Regions from separate parts of the Homo sapiens genome. Here regions 2, 3, 4, 5 and 6 are each linked to region 1. The links are contacts of gene promoters, found by promoter capture Hi-C in blood cells and fetal thymus (Javierre and others, 2016). All regions are on one chromosome and are shown on one strand. Each heading gives the region's core, a stretch centred on a gene start or on the middle of the fragment in contact. The rest is flanking DNA. Distances are from core to core; before and after follow the strand shown.

Evidence for each region. The method cuts DNA at HindIII sites, captures the fragments that hold promoters and counts their contacts. A CHiCAGO score of 5 or more calls a contact.
Region 2: a fragment that was not itself captured here is called in contact with the fragment with the promoter of LRRN3 in region 1 in 2 of 17 cell types (total B cells and naive B cells); the score reaches 5.5 in total B cells.
Region 3: a contact is called between a fragment that was not itself captured here and the fragment with the promoter of LRRN3 in region 1, in 2 of 17 cell types (activated CD4 T cells and non-activated CD4 T cells). The highest score is 6.4, in activated CD4 T cells.
Region 4: a fragment that was not itself captured here is called in contact with the fragment with the promoter of LRRN3 in region 1 in 1 of 17 cell types (M2 macrophages); the score reaches 5.9 in M2 macrophages.
Region 5: a contact is called between a fragment that was not itself captured here and the fragment with the promoter of LRRN3 in region 1, in 1 of 17 cell types (activated CD4 T cells). The highest score is 5.0, in activated CD4 T cells.
Region 6: a fragment that was not itself captured here is called in contact with the fragment with the promoter of LRRN3 in region 1 in 1 of 17 cell types (activated CD4 T cells); the score reaches 7.2 in activated CD4 T cells.

Annotation. Positions count from the first base shown.
Region 1 is chr7:111,089,776-111,092,475 of GRCh38, forward strand. It overlaps LRRN3 (leucine rich repeat neuronal 3), which reads left to right and starts at 1,352. Exons shown (of 3, transcript NM_001099658.2): 1 at 1,352-1,729. All of the region lies in intron 3 of IMMP2L (inner mitochondrial membrane peptidase subunit 2), which reads right to left. The HindIII fragment of the contact is 3,940 bases long and covers 930-2,700 here.
Region 2 is chr7:111,519,945-111,522,644 of GRCh38, forward strand. It overlaps IMMP2L (inner mitochondrial membrane peptidase subunit 2), which reads right to left. Exons shown (of 6, transcript NM_032549.4): 2 at 1,369-1,505. The coding sequence starts at 1,503. Among named protein-coding and RNA genes, the nearest start is that of IMMP2L, 41 kb to the right of the region's middle. The HindIII fragment of the contact is 1,471 bases long and covers 629-2,099 here.
Region 3 is chr7:110,637,276-110,639,975 of GRCh38, forward strand. No RefSeq gene overlaps it. Among named protein-coding and RNA genes, the nearest start is that of LRRN3, 450 kb to the right of the region's middle. The HindIII fragment of the contact is 1,162 bases long and covers 783-1,944 here.
Region 4 is chr7:111,553,912-111,556,611 of GRCh38, forward strand. All of the region lies in intron 1 of IMMP2L (inner mitochondrial membrane peptidase subunit 2), which reads right to left. Among named protein-coding and RNA genes, the nearest start is that of IMMP2L, 7.2 kb to the right of the region's middle. The HindIII fragment of the contact is 3,780 bases long and covers 1-2,700 here.
Region 5 is chr7:110,759,353-110,762,052 of GRCh38, forward strand. The region is part of intron 5 of IMMP2L (inner mitochondrial membrane peptidase subunit 2); the gene reads right to left. Among named protein-coding and RNA genes, the nearest start is that of LRRN3, 330 kb to the right of the region's middle. The HindIII fragment of the contact is 1,318 bases long and covers 658-1,975 here.
Region 6 is chr7:110,610,333-110,613,032 of GRCh38, forward strand. No RefSeq gene overlaps it. Among named protein-coding and RNA genes, the nearest start is that of LRRN3, 480 kb to the right of the region's middle. The HindIII fragment of the contact is 3,027 bases long and covers 1-2,700 here.

The DNA of each region.
Region 1 (2,700 bases), core at 102-2,601:
TTATAGAAAAAAACATTTGGGAACTGTTTCTAGAAAACTACAGAGTGAAAATATTCAGTATTTAAAGACAAGCCTACTGTTTAAAATTTTTCCTGGTATTATTATTATTATAATAACTGCAAACTATTGTTCTATGTCATGTCAATAAGCACTTAAGGAGCAATTAGATGTGAAGGTTTTGTTTTTTTTTTCCTAAGTAAATCTAATAAGTGCCATTTCTCTTTACTCCACTAGAGGGTAGTCTCTCAAAACTGGGGTTGGAGTCATGACTAGCCTGCTTTTGACCTGTTGATATATTAATCCTCATGTTCCATTCTCCTCAACAAGATGTTTCTCTAGTATACTAATTAAGGTTGTAAAACATGCATTTTTAAAACTGCTTTTTGATTTTTCATGTATGTTCTTTCAGAAATATGCACTGCTATGTGTTTCTGTGTTTTCCAAATTTCTGGTAATTAATAAAAATGTTTTACATGTATGGCTTATATAGTATATTTTCCTGGGAAATATCCTTTCAGAGTTAATAGGCCTAAGAATAAAGATAGTCTTTTAAATAATTTAACTTATTACAATCGAAATATTTCCCCAGAGTGGTAAAAAATACATCCTAAATACACACACACACTCACAGATACACAAACACACCTACACATGTACCCATTCATATGTAGCTCCTAGATTTATTACATCATATAAAGAGAAGTCAGTGAGTATAATTAGAAATACATATTTTTAAAAAGTACCCCCTCAAATGCCAATGTTGTGAATTACAGAGAGGCAAATATATGCTTTATTTTAAAAATCTGGTCAATCCAGACAAGAAATGTCATTGCTAAAAAAAAAAAAAAAAAAGTGTTATTGAACACCAAGCACATATGCTAAATTAAGTAGGATCTATAGAGAACCAAATGCCACTCAAAACAGTTGCAAGCTTCTCTTCTTAAATAATGCAGTCATTGCTGAACTTCAGAGACGGAGTTGGAGGTTTGAGTCTCTACCAGGTGTTTTTAATATTTAGGAAATCCTTATCAGTAGTGTGTCCTCTCTATTTGCAGACTGAAAACATATTTCTCTGAATGACTGATAACCTAAAATTGAGAAAACTTGTCAAAAATTCCCAACATTCCCTCAGAAAGGAAAAAAAAGAAGGAAAATGATACCTAGGAAAACATGCAAGCCTGTTTCATTTATTTGTATCCTAAGCAGCAGTGTCATAGAACAGACAGTTTGTTTCAGCCAACCAGACTGGAGCAGCTGCGAGTGCTACATCTTGGCTGTCTGAAGCGATTGGCTCCTCTCTGGGGAGTGGAGGGTGTTCAGTTATTAATGACCGCTGAGCAGGCAGCACCATGTCAGTGTGACAACTGATCGGGTGAACGATGCACCACTAACCACCATGGAAACAAGGAAAAATAAAGCCAGCTCACAGGATCTCTCTTCACTGGATTGAGAGCCTCAGCCTGCCGACTGAGAAAAAGAGTTCCAGGAAAAAGAAGGAATCCCGGCTGCAGCCTCCTGCCTTCCTTTATATTTTAAAATAGAGAGATAAGATTGCGTGCATGTGTGCATATCTATAGTATATATTTTGTACACTTTGTTACACAGACACACAAATGCACCTATTTATACCGGGCAAGAACACAACCATGTGATTATCTCAACCAAGGAACTGAGGAATCCAGCACGCAAGGACATCGGAGGTGGGCTAGCACTGAAACTGCTTTTCAAGGTAAGTTTAAAATACACATATATTTTAAAATACGTTCTATTTCTTGTCTCTTCGATGATCATGTTTTTACACCTAAATCCTCCTTTGATGTCTTCTTCTTGTCTGAATTCTAAGAGCATTTTTCTTTTATTGCACTTTTGAGAAGAAATTCACATGCAAAACCCAGCTGGCTCTGTGTGTGCCTAGCTGTGTTTGTGAGATTCTCCAACATGCATTTTACTAGCTTGAATGCCCATTAGAGGATGTGAGTGGGAGAGAAAAAGCAGTGTTGGGGGGAGGAGAAAAAGGAGGGAGACAGAAGAGAAGGGAACAGTGGGGGAGAAGAGAGGAGGAGAGGGAGAGAGAAGGAGATGGGGAAGAGAGAAGACAGAGAGGAGACAGAGAGGAGAGGAGAGTCACGGGTGATGGGGTGCAATTTTCCTTTTTCTTCACATTATTTGTAGTGAAAAGCAGATCACACATTATTCTCTGTTTTGAAATCAACCCACCAAATGGGGCATTTTTATTTTGTCTCATCCAGTGGATGCAAATTAAGGCAAATGCTGTTGTATGTTAAGAGCTAAACCACTAAGCAGAGTAGCAGAATGAGCATATCACAAACAGTTATTGAATTTCTGCCAGGCTACATCTTACGGACTGGGGTAAATGACTTCCCTTTAATAACATCCCCTCGCTGGTCTGAAGGGACAGTGCAAATGTCTGATTGCTAATGCAGCTGGAACTGCCACACACTAGGTGAAAGGATCCCATGAACCAGAAGAGTTCTAATCTTTGGTAATTAACAGGATCACAGCAGGATGGCTTTAAAGTACATTTCCTATTTAAGAAAATTGTTTGTTCTAACCAACTGCTATATTCCCTTTGCTGTTGTTGAGCTGGATGGCTTAATTCGGCTCTAATTTATTCATTTTTAACAATATGTCCTTGTTTCTCTGCCTCTAATTTCAGTGAAAGCAGGCTATGAATATGAG
Region 2 (2,700 bases), core at 114-2,613, 430 kb after region 1:
CTTGGGACCAAAAAGGAATGTGGGTGGCTGTGAAGAAGGCAGTTTTAATCTGAAATGAAGAATCTGACTCCAAAGCTCAGCAAAGAAAGTCTACGTTTCCCTAAGGATTGAGTCTAAGACAAGGCTGCTAGGAATTCAAGATTAAAGAGGCAACGAATGTAAAATACATTCTATCTTAAACATATTAAAGTGTATTTAAAGCCATATGCCTATAAATCTTTCTTTCTATGTTTACTGTACCCCTACATTAAGATATTTTGGCATTCAAAGTAAGTGACCAGTTTGCTTTGGGCTGGTGATCCACTATGGAGAGAACCTGAAAGACACGGTTGAGAGCAGAATCTTCTGCCCAAGAAAAGGCCCTAACCATGCTCAAATGATGGAAGTAGAATATAAAGGCAGTCCTGTTTTAAAAATGTAGCTTTTCCCAAAGAAGCTAAAGGATTTCCTGACCTTCTGTATCTGACTACCAGAACTCAGGGAGAAGTTCAATACCATAATTATAATAAATAAAGCAAACTAATTCTAACTCCTTAAAGCTGATAACTATGCCCTTAACTAGTTCTAACTGAAACAAAAAGAAAAAAAATTAAGCTGGTTATTCTCTGTATAATTTTGATTTTTTAGAAGCTTATATATTCATTTTAGTTATTTGTTTTATACAACTATTTACCACAACGCATGAACTTAATACATATTGATAATACAGGAAACCAAATCCTATAACAAAATGCAAATTCTGCCTAACTGCTTAAACTTACTAAAAAAGCTAGGTTCTAGACATCAACTTTAGGACAACATAATTTTCTCTAAGTTATTCCAGAAGACTATTTGCATAAAACTTTTGGAAATCTCCACTCCAAAGTTCTTCCACTGTAAACTGCACTTAATCTTTTCAATTAGCAACATGCTTAAAGAACACAATACAATATCTGGGATCAATGGTCTAGACATTTCTACAAACTGAAATCATATACCTATATAACAAGAGAGCAACTGATTGTGACTCAAACCCATCTTGCAACTACACTAATAATTTGGCATTAAAAGGATATTCTAATAGAGCCATATTCACAGAAAACAGTGTCATTTAGTATAATTTCTTAAGAATCTCCATTTAAAATTCTCAGAAAAATTTAAACTACAGACCCAGAGAACTGATAGTTACTTTTATTAACCTCTCCTCTGATTATAATACGACTGTATTAGAAGACCTTAAGAACAAATTCAGTAAAGTAAAATTTCATTTCAATGCCTTTTTATAACCTTTCAGTTCCCAGAATAGGAATAATAATTAGCACTCTCATTTCTAGTGCTTGAAAAACAATGAAGTATGTGCTTTAAAGAACGAAGTTATATCATTTTCACCTGCATCGATGCTCCTTCTACTCTTGCCACACAGGCGACCCGATCCAAGAAAGTCACTGCCACAGGCACCGCCACAAAGAAGCCTTTACAAAAGGCCTTGATGTATCTTTTCACCCACCCTTGTGACTGTGCCATACCTAAAAATACAAAGAAAACAACTATGAAATTAGTCTCAAGAAAGGTGAAAAACAAAGACATAAAAACAGTACATGAAAAGTAAGAGTTACCGAAGGGCAATCTTGTCTCTTAATATATTACACACTCATTCCTGTAACCATTAGAATAAATCTGACTTACTTAAAGTCCTAAAGTGAAATACGTGAACTCAGGTTAATGCTTTTCCACAACTCAAGTCCACTTGCTAACTTCAGTGGGAAATTTCTCCCCACAAAACAGTAAGTTAGAAAAAAACAAGCATTCCAGAAGTAAATTCTTTTCTGTTGCTATTATGATGAAGTTACTCCTTATACCCCTGATATCTGTTCTCTTCTACAGTAATAAAAGTTTCAGTGGAACATGTGGCTGCCCAACTAAAGACTGTTTTCCAGCCTCCCTTGCAGCTAATTGTGACCATGTCACTGGATTTGATCAACAGCATGAGTAGAAAGGATATAATTCTTGGTTGCACCCTGAAAAGGAGGATGCCCTCCCTTTTCTTCCCCATTTTATAACTGTAATACTAACAATTTGGTGGTAGGAGCAGGGGTGGCCATCTCAAACTATGAGATAAAAGCTTCAAGTAAAGATGACAAAGCAACAAAATGGAACGATCCTAGGTCCGCAACACCATGGAGGCACCATACTGTCCTGCATTGCTTACATTTGGACTGTTAAATCACAGATAAATCACTTGCGCTGTTTGTGGTGGCAGTGTTGGTGTTGTTGTTGTCGTTGTTGTTTTTAGACAGGGTCTCACTCTGTCACCCAAGCTGGAGTCTTGGCAAGACTTTTTTGGATAAGACTTCAAAAGCACAGTCAATCATAGCAAAAACAGACAATGGAGATTACATCAAGCTAAAAAGTTTCTGTGCAGCAAACAATCAACGTAATGAAGAGACAACCTACAGAATGGAAGAAAATATAAGGAAACTATACTTCTGACAAGAGGCTAATATCCAAAAACGCATAAGGAACTCCAACAATTCAATAGCAAAAAGACAACCCAATTAAAAAATGCCCAAGAGCTTAACAATAATTTCTCAAAAGAAGACATACAAATAGCCAACAGGTATATGAAAAGAATGCGCAGTCATGAGGGAAATGCAAATCAAAACCACATGGATATCATTCCACCCCAGTTAGAATGGCCATTATCAAAAGGCAACAAGTGCT
Region 3 (2,700 bases), core at 114-2,613, 450 kb before region 1:
CAGACATCCCTCTGGCCTCCACTGGCTCCTGTGACTTTGGTACCCAGTTCCCACGGGCTTCTAAGCTACAGGCTCCAATGCAGCTGGTCCCATGGGACGCCAGCCCCTTCCTGCCAAGCATAGCTCCATCAAAGGAGCCTTTAGAGCCACTGCCTCTGGGAAGCTCCTCTGCTCTCACTGGGGCTGGCGGCCCTAAGACACAGCAGTTTTGATGTCTCGCCCTCACATGGAAGGTGGCTAACACTTGGCCCGATGCCCACTTGTCCCCATGACATATCCACCAGCCTCAGAGGAGCTACCTGTCAGGCCCAAGCTCTTGTTTGTTTGCAGAGAAGGTGCAATTGGGGACAAGAAAAGGTGGGAGCTGTAGGAGTAGAAAGGTCTGGGACAGTGGATGGTAAGAGCAGTAGGCAGGGAAGGAAAAGGGGGAAGGATTTGAGAGACCAAATGAGATTAAATGAAGCCACCAACCTAAGTCAGATATAAGGAATTACAGTCATAAAAGTATCATATGTGATAATTTAAAAAACCCACAATGTATAGGAATATACAGGAAACTTGCTACTAAAGGAAAGAACTTGAACTACACGTAAAAAAAAAATTGTCAACACCTCTTAGAAAAAAAAATAGATCACATTTCTTTATTTCAGAAGGCAGAAGAAATTGCAGAGAGAAAAATTTTAGATCAATGTAAGGAAAGTTGTCAAACAAATAATCCTATCTTAAATTTAATGGGCTGTCTATATGACAACACATTTTCCATCACTTGGGCATTTAAACAAAGCTTAGATAATTACTTCTCAGGGATGATATATATTGATAAAGACCTTCTAAATTCCTTAAATCAAATGTCCAGTATTCTTCCCCTCAATTGCAATAACTGCAAAGACGACCTTTCTGCAATCCCTCATAGCAAGAGAATTTTAAGTAGAAGGACTAAAAACCTTTATAAGATAAATAATGTTAGAAGAACTAAGGGCATAAAAGGGAATCTTAAAATATTTTAAATATCAGCAAAAACTGAGACAATAAAAACCCACAAACAAAGCAAATAAAGATGTTATCTTTAATTTTTATATAACTTAAATAGTAAGAATGGGTTCTGAGATGAAATTTTCAGACCATCCATTCCTCAGGATCTCCCTTTTTATTCATTGTCAAAGACATGCTTAAAATCAATTGTGCTCTGTTTGAGGAAAGCATTGCATTGTGAGAGGCATTTTCCCTCACCTTACCCTCTCCCATCTTTTCTTCCCTCCAAGAGGTCAATGCCTTTTGGATTTTATGAATCAGAGTTATGAGCTTGGACTCCCAAGTCCAACTCTACCGCATGGCTGCAGGATGACGAAGACTTCAAATAACATGCTACTGTTGCCTTATTCAGCATATCTGCTCTAGCAGCAAATGAGTGTTTTCAAATCTCTAAACACAGGATATTCACCAGGAGATTCTAGAATGTGGCAGGATACTTGGACTTGGCTCCCCAGCCTGTTTTTGAGGACTCCTTCCTGACTTCTGCTCCTCTCACTATACAGGAAGGCCATTCTGAGACCCAAATTACTCACCTTCTGCCTTCCTTTTCCTCTCTGAAAACCACTGCAATAAACCTCTACTCCTAGTTTTCCATGTGCTCAATCCCCATTTTCTTCTCCCAAATCCCCAATCCTCCCCTTTCTATTATTTCCCATAGTGGACAGTTAATATTTGCTTATCCTTAGAACAAAATTCTCTTGATTGCTAAATAGGTATAGAAAAGTAAATTTGACTATGCTAGACTTTTGTTTCAGGGAAATTCATGGTCAGAAAGAAGTCATATACTATATGCACTTTCCCAAAGAGACACATTTCAATTACGTTCTTCATTTTGGTAAAAATGTAATGATCATTCACTACAAATTATAATTAACTCTTTAGAACAGGAGAATTTCTTCTCTTTAAAAGAAAAGCTTTAATATGAACTTTTAAATAATAGCACACAGTTATTTCTATAAATTGATTAAGAATAAGTGACCAATAGAAAAAATACATACTCATGAGCTGGACCCAAGTTTAAAGGTTATATTTAATGAAGGTAAGGGGGCAAGAGAGGGACAAGATTTTTTGAGGAAAACAAATCTTTCCTTTCAGTTTCATGTTAAAAAATTACCATCAGAATTGTTTGTTATTATTACTTAATAAACTTTAAAAATGCATGTATATGTTCATTATTACAAGGGCAGGGAGGGATATGTAAACACACAGGGGCAAAGAGAGAGACACATGGAGGACAGGGAGGTGTGCAGGACAGGATAGTGCCATGCTCTGGGGTTAAAGAGAATAAAGGAGTGAGGAAGGAGGTTGAAAAAGAGGAAGAACTACATTTCTGAGAAAAGCAAGACAGCTGTGCCAATGAAAAAAAGAATAGCATGAGGGAACAAGAAGATCAACATCTTCTACTGGCCATAATGACATAAAAAACAAATGATTACCAGCTGTTATGAGTGATTCCTTCAGACAGGTTGACAAAGTGGTAGCTCATTCACCAATTTGGCATCATAAGGGTGTTTATATTTTTTAACTGGATTTGAATACTGTTAGATTCTGCATTTCTTCCCCAGTTTACCACTAGCCTAAGCACATCTTAGCATCTAAAATTTTAGGAGGAATTTAAAAAAGGGTATTGGATTTCTCCTAGAATAGAGGTCTCAGGTTCGAATCTTG
Region 4 (2,700 bases), core at 101-2,600, 460 kb after region 1:
CTTTTGAGCCATATAACTTTGCAAAACAGGTAGGCAGGACGGGTATACTACCATCCTATTTTTCAATGATGGCCTTAGAGAAGTCTCAGTAACTTAACTAAGGATACGTAACTATTAAAAGGAATTCAAGAATCTAATCTACAATTTTTTAGCTCCAAATCCCAGCCTTTTCTTCTAAGCCATGTTTTAGCCCAGTGGTTCTCCACCCTGACTGCCATGAGGACACCTAAGATGCTTTGAAAATATCACTGCCTGGACCTCATCCCCCAGATACTTGATATAATTGCACTGGTTTGTGTTAGCTGTCTAATATATAATAAACCAGTGTTGGTAAATTCACAGAAAGTTTATATCACAAGGGAGAAAATGCTGATACGTCTATATGTAAACTGAAACATATTAACCCCCTAAGAACTCCCTCAAACACAAAAATATCTTGCAATAAAATCACGCAGAACAAGAAGAAAGGGAAGATGAGAAACCCAAGCCCCTTCTGCTGCTATCGTGGGGCCATTAAGGAATATTTTATTCCCCTAATCTTACTCCCCGAACCTCACCATGCCATATCTCAAGCTATAGCTCAGGTATCACCTTTTGTGAGACCTTCAGGATCACAAAAATAATGAAGTCCATTTTTTGCATCTATCTTACCTTGAACTCTATCATAGCACATATTGTCCCTCAAAGCATTGCTTTATTTTTATTTTATTATTATTATTATTATTATTTGAGATGGAGTCTTGCTCTGTCACCCAGGCTGGAGTGCAGTACCACATTCTCGGCTCACTGCAACCTCCACCTCCTGGGTTCAAGTGATTCTCCTGCCTCAGCCTCTGGGATTACAGGTACATGCCAGCATGCCTGACTAATTTTTGTATTTTTAGTAGAGACGGGGTTTTGCCATATTGGCCAGGCTAGTCTCGAACTCCTGACCTCTGGTGATCCACCCACCTCAGCCTCCCAAAGTACTGGTGCTGCTTTATTTATATATCCATTTTTCTCACTGCCCTGAGGGGTCCTTAACCCATTTATGCTGGAGGTTGCAAATTTTTTTTGTGAAAAATCAGGCCTTGGCGATGACCTTGAGAAGTAGGATATAAATAACTCCCACTAGCTTAGCGCTCCAATAATGGAGCACTAGGCATAAATGCATTAAGATCAGATCCCTATGTTACTCATCCTTCCTGCCATATATATCTTTGTATCCAGGGCCTTTACCATAGCAGATATTAATACATGTTGGCTATGCTGAATGATTTTTATGTTTGTTATCATTATTTCCTCCATTCTCCTAGCAGACACTCCTGTGAAATTTTTCAACTTTTAATAAAGGAAAATGGAGTTTTTACGCACAACTGGATTAGGTTAGAGAATAATGTATGCAAAAGGGCCAGACGTAGTGAGAGCAAGACAGCAGTGAACTGTGGGGCAGGAAAGAATAGAGTAGAAAGGACATTTAAAATTCATATCTGACAGTTGGGGTCAGATATGAATTTTGCAAGCCGGGAAGGAGTAGGCAAACAAAGCGACAACCTAATCTTCATTCACAAAAAAAAAAATATGACAAGCAAGGAATCAGGCAACTGTATTTTCAACATCTCCCTTTCTATGGTGTTTCTAACTCACAGCATACAGACATGTTGTTTCTCTCTCAAAAAATAAAATCTGAAGCAGTGATATGATTTCACTATGTATTTGACTTTTTTTTAAGATTCCACATGTGAGATAATACAATATTTTTCTTTCTGCATTTGGCTTACTTCACTTAGCATAATGTCCCCTAGGTTTACCTATCTTATGGCAAAAAGCAGAATCTATTTCTTTTTTAAGGCTGAATAATATTCCATTCTATATATGTACTGCAGTTTGATTTTCTGTTGTCTTTTGTTGGACAGTTAGGTTGTTTCCATATATTCACACCCATCAAGATGGCTACTACCAAATAAAACAAGAGATAAGTGTTGGCGAGGGTGGGAGAAAAGAGAACCCTTGTATACTATTGGTACAACCATTATGGAAAAAGTAGGGAGGTTCCTAAAGAAATTAAAAATAGAACTACCATTACTTCTATTTTGTACCAATTAGCCATCCCTCTTCTGTGTGCATGTATATATATATATATATACATACCCAAAGAAAATGAAACCGCAACCTTGTAAAGATATCAGTCGGAATTTTTAAAAGCTCTCTAGGGGATTCTAATATGTGTGCATACAGAGATGGAGAATAAAACAGTGATCCCAGGGGAGGGGGAAGGAAATTGAGATGTAGGTCAAAGGACACAAAGTAGCAGCCATGTATAATGAAAGAGTTTGGGAACTCATGTACAGCATCAGTACTATATAATACTGTATTGTATTCCTGACTTTTGCTAAATGAGTAGATTTTAGCTACTCTTGTCATACACACAAAAATGGATAACTATGTAAGATGATGGATGTTACTATGTCTCACTACAGTAACCATTTTACTATTTACATGTATTCCATAACATGTTATTTTCCTTAAATATACACAATAAAATGTATTAAGTAAATACCCTGACTGAAGAACAATTATCTCCTAAGAGGGACCCAAGCATATCTACTCTCTATTCTCATGTCCAGCCCCCTTCAGCCTCATCTCCTATTCAGTCCTTTACCCACAGCACGATAGCTTTACCTCCACCACTACAATGAAACCAGTGACTTCTAACAGTCA
Region 5 (2,700 bases), core at 67-2,566, 330 kb before region 1:
CACAAAGTAGATGTGAGATAAACATTTGCCGAATGAATGAATTTAAATATAAATTTCTGAAAGGAGGCTGGTCAAATAAAATAGCATGATATGCGAGGAAAGATATGGACTAAATGGATACTAAGGCAGAAGGTTTGTATAAGTGTTCATGAGAAAAGGAGGTTCATGATGCATATTCTTATTAATTCTAAGTATTTTATAAAGAGGCCCTATTTTCAAAAATGGCTATGGTAAAAAGAGTCAGGGAACACATTCTTGACTAGGCTTTAATATTAAAAACAGATTTTGGAGCTGCTTTATTTCCTTTCTTGGTAACATGTATGTACAGACAGACTTAGGGATTTACTTGTTTCCTTAAGAAAGTATATACATGCCCTTGTTCAACTTTTATTTCTAGGGGAACCCTGACATCAATGAACTACTGAAGTTATAGCTTCAATAATTTCAAATAAGAGAGGATACAAATGAATTGAGTTTATGTTGTGTGAATTTTCAGAATTGAACTTCCTGGCAGAAGCAAAGTTGCTTATTATTATTAGATTCATTCTTTCCCAACCCAGTTACTCCTTTTACCCCTGCTGTGAGGTCTCTGTCTTTGAATTCTTTATTAAGCTTTTTAACAGACAATCTGCTCCAGCACTTTCTGAGGAGAAAAAAAGCTTCCTTTTCTCCCCACAATGCCAGTTAAGCCTTCCATTTAATATGAAATCAAGTGGAGACATCTGTGCTTTGTCATCACAAAAGAAAACCGTTTTATTTTTCTAATTATTATCTACTTATCAGCCTTGGGTTGAGAATTCACTTGCTTTTGTGCCACCTTGAGAATTCAGTCTCAATTCTCCACGTCCAGGCCTAAGATAGTATCATTCCCTTTCTATTAGTGTTTATCTGCATCTGCCTTAGAGAAGTTGTTTACATCCAATATTGGACTACCCTTCACATTAAGTTTAAATTGGAAACTTCTTTTTCTAATAGAGATAATCTGTATAGTGTTCAGGAAACTACAATAATTCAGCAATAGATGAAAATGTTTTAAAACTGTGAAGGGCTCTGAAGCTGATGTTTTCCATTATCAGTTGTTTGTTTAGGTAAATTACATTAAAGGTCAGAAATGAAATGCCCATACCAACAACTAGACTGAGAAGTGGTCTATTACTCACTGCTTTCAGCTTATATAAAAGAGTTTTTGTTGTCCCCAACTCCCAGGAGGGCAACTGCTGGGAAGGAATGAAGTTCCTAGAAGATACCAATCCATATTGAAAGGGAGCAACGTGTTGGTTACGTTTTCCTTCCAACATATCACAGAATTGAATCTTTTTTGGTCTGTGCTTTCTTTTTGTTCTACAATATATTTATTTCAAAATCTCTCATAGCACTTCAATACCTGGAATATCTCAAAAGGTTTGCTGACTATTGTTAACAGCTCTGACTAAACACCTATTTCTTACTACAAGTGTAGAACGCCAGATAGGATCATCACAGTAGGCACCTCACAAAGGTCATGCAGACCTTAGAGGAAATTATGGCCCAACAAGCCACAGGAGCCAGAGAAGTCAAACCAGATGTATAAGTGACATAAGTGGGTTGGAGAATAGAGAAAGCAAACATTGCAATGCAGCGATATCAGGTGAATTTGAAAAGCATCTGCTACCAAATACAGGGCTTGCTGATGAGTAAGGGAGAATGAGAGCTGTTGGTGTATCAGAGCAGTTCTTCCTATGGATGGCTGAGATTCAAAGCTGGTCCACCTTTCAGCCAGTCAAACTTTAAACTTTTGGTGGCAGCAAACATCTCTAACATAGTGGGATTCCAGAAGGGGACTAAGTGGTTTCTCAGTCTGTAGAATATGAGCACTCCACTAGAAAAACAAATGGGAAATAATGACTTCTTGACGATGGGGATGGTAAAAAACGAAAATATAGCCATTCCTCTTTATCTACCTCACATCAAGCCCTGCTGACTGTTTAGCAAACAAAGCTTTCCAATGATCAATGATGTCCTTTCCATGACAGAAGAATCTTGAACTCATCAACCTAGATTCGATATAGTACTAGGGTGGAATTAATGCCATCTCTATTTAGGCTGGTTATAAGAAATCAAGAACACTATGCTGAAGTCCTTCCTAATGATCTCCAAAAGTAAACATATTCTACAGGAAGGATTCACAGTGTCATAAAATTGAAGTAGATATGCATCAATCAAGTACCTCTCAGGAGATTTTAAATTTTTATGAAAATAACCATTTATACTTATCAGATGCTTACTGTAGGCTGGGAACTTACTATGTGTAAAGGCTAACCTCATTGACATGTATTGTCTAATGTAATCCTTACAACTATCTTGTGAAGCAAATATGATTACAAATCCAATTTCACAGATGAGGAACCTGAGGCTTAAAGAGTTTAAACAAACACTTAGCTGTTAATTGGCAGCTTGAGCCCTTAACATCTATGCCATGCTGAGTATAAATCACAGCTTATTCATTTCTCTAACTTCTGACCTCTAGTGTCATCATGACAATTGTCAGGTCTACATAACATACCTTAAATGTTCTGTTTGTACCAAAGCTAAACACTGCCAGCATAGCTCCCTGGTCAACACGGGGTCCGTACCTCTGCCCCTGTCCCACTCCTAGCTTCTACCTAGACTGGGGTCCTAAAAGCAGATAATGCTTTGAATTCTTTCTCTAACAGCCATCAT
Region 6 (2,700 bases), core at 41-2,540, 480 kb before region 1:
AAGGGAACTATGTTGAAAAGATTAAGTGAAGGTTTATATAATGAACACAGAAATTAAGCCTAAAACTTATAAGAAAGTACAAGGAAGCCCAAATACCCATAACAATCTTTAAGAACAAAGTTGTGGGACTCACACTTTCTGATTTCAAAACCTATTACAAAGCTACAGTAATCAACACACACACATGCACACATATATATTTGTGTATATATAATTGAGAATCAATGTATCTATTGTCAATCAGTTTTCAACAAGGGTATCAAGATCATCTCCTGGAGAAAGAATAGTCTTTGGGAAAATGGTGCTGGGCTAAATGAAACTCTACATTCAAAAGAATGAATTTGGACTCTTACCTTATAACACATGCAAAAATTAATTCAAACTGGATTAAAGATCTAGATGTAAGTGCCAAAGCTATGAAACCTTTAGAAAAGTTAACACAGGTGTAAATTTTCTTAACTTGAATAAGACAACATTTTCTTAAATATGACACCAAAAACATAAGCAACCAAAGGAAAAAATAAATAAATTGAACTGCCTCAAAATAAAACTTTAGTATTTCAAGGGGCACAATCAAGAAAGTGAAAATTCAGTCCACTGAAAATATTTGAATACCATACATCTGTTAAGGGACTTGTATCTAGAATACATAAAGAACTCTTACAACTCAGTAATAAAAAGATAAATAACCCAGTTCAAAAATGGGCAAAGGATCTGAATAGAGATTTTTTCAAAGATGACATAGGAACGGCCAAGAGGAATGTGAAAAATGGTGTTCAACATCAATAGTTATTAGGTAAAGGCAAATCAAAGCCATAAGGAGATGCAACTTCCCATCAACTGGGATGCTTAAATAAATTTTAAGAAAGCATGATAGTGCTTTTCTAAACAAGTTTCATAAACAAGTGTCTATGAGGATGTGGAGAAATTAGAACCCTTACACATTGCTGGTGGGGATGTACAATGTTACAACCACCATGGAAAACAGTAGTTTCTTGTGGCGCTACATATGCAATTACTACGTGACTTAGTAATTGCACTCTTGGGCATTTCTCCCAGAGAAATGACAATTATGTTCATACAAAAACCTGTACCTGGGTCTTCAAAGCAGCTTCATTCATGAAAGCCCAAAACAGAAAGCATCCCAGATGTTCCTCAGTAAGGAAATGGTTAAGCAAACTGTGGTGCATACATACCATGATATCTTACTAAGCAATCAAAAGGAAGCAACTATTGATACATGCAGCAACAACTTGGATGGATCTCTAAGTAATTATGCTGAGTGAAACAAACTTACCCCAAAGGTTACATATTATATGACTCCATATTTATATAATGGTTTTGAAATGACAAAATTTTAGAAATGGAGAACAGGCTGGTGGTTGCTGAGGGTGAGGAAGAACAGGTAGGAGGGGCAGAAGGAAGAGGGTGTGGTTATAAAAGGTGTTTATGTAATCATCATAATAGAAATATTAAATTGATATAATCAAAATTAAAATATACCTAACTCAAAAGGATGGAGGAATGGAAACTGTGGATATTTAGTGGGGGGTGGGACAGAGTGAAAGAAAACTAAATCCCCAGATTTGAGAGGGATTAGTTATTTCTGTGATATTAGCCTCCATTTTCAGTAAATGTTGAGCAAGCATCTCTACCTTGTCAGGCAACATGGTAGGCTCTGGGGACATTAAGAAAAATTAGATTGGCCTCTGCCCGTAGAAGCACATAACTACTCTTCAAATGAAGAATATTTAAATACCTTCGATAAAATCTTGAATCAACCTTTGCTCATGATTACAAATGGTTCCTTCTTGTAGGAAGTGCAGCTACAAATGTTCCAAGGGATAAAGAAGAAGATATAGCTGGGGAACAGATAGCTGTGTTTTTTTGATGTCCCTGTAGACTTCACAACGAGGAGTTCTCCAAATTATTTCAGGCAGGATATATTTCCGGTTTTAAAAAGAGAAAGTCTTTCTCCTCCTAGAGACAGAGAAACAACACTGTCATAAAACACTGAGAACACATTACTTCATGTTCACCATAGAAGCACTGAAACAAAGTTTTTCTGACTATATAGGTTAAACAAAAATGACCTATTCTTCTATTCCAAATGGGAAATAATAAATGACTGATAACCAAGGTCTCAGCCAATAACCTCCTTTCAAATCAAAAGTTGATATATAATGGATCTTAGTCTCCTCAGCATATTAATAATGACTATATTACCAACATTATAATTAACGTTATATTAATAATAATTAACAATGATAACGACATGTACCATAAAATGTTTTTAAATCTTATTCTTTTCTAGATTAATTTCCTTTTTTCTCTTAGGGTCTAAATCAACTCCTCATGAATCACACCCTGCCCCACTGTCATATCAGCAATTTTAACTTAAACAGAAAATTATATTAATTGCTTTGGATCAGATCACACATTACATTCTCCCATTTATATACTCTCCTTTGACTTCTCTGACAGTGATGCTCTCAATGAATCCTTTTCATATATAATAATAGGGCTTCCTCAGCTGAGGGCATAATACCTCCTGGATCTGCCTGACTGACAGATGAAAGTTTGGCATGTTCTTAAGAGGAAATGGACATGTTAATTAGCACAGTTACTCACAAGTGCTTTGGAAACTATGCCCTAAAGTTGATGACTATACTAAACGTTGATGGGAGATTCTTAGTCTTA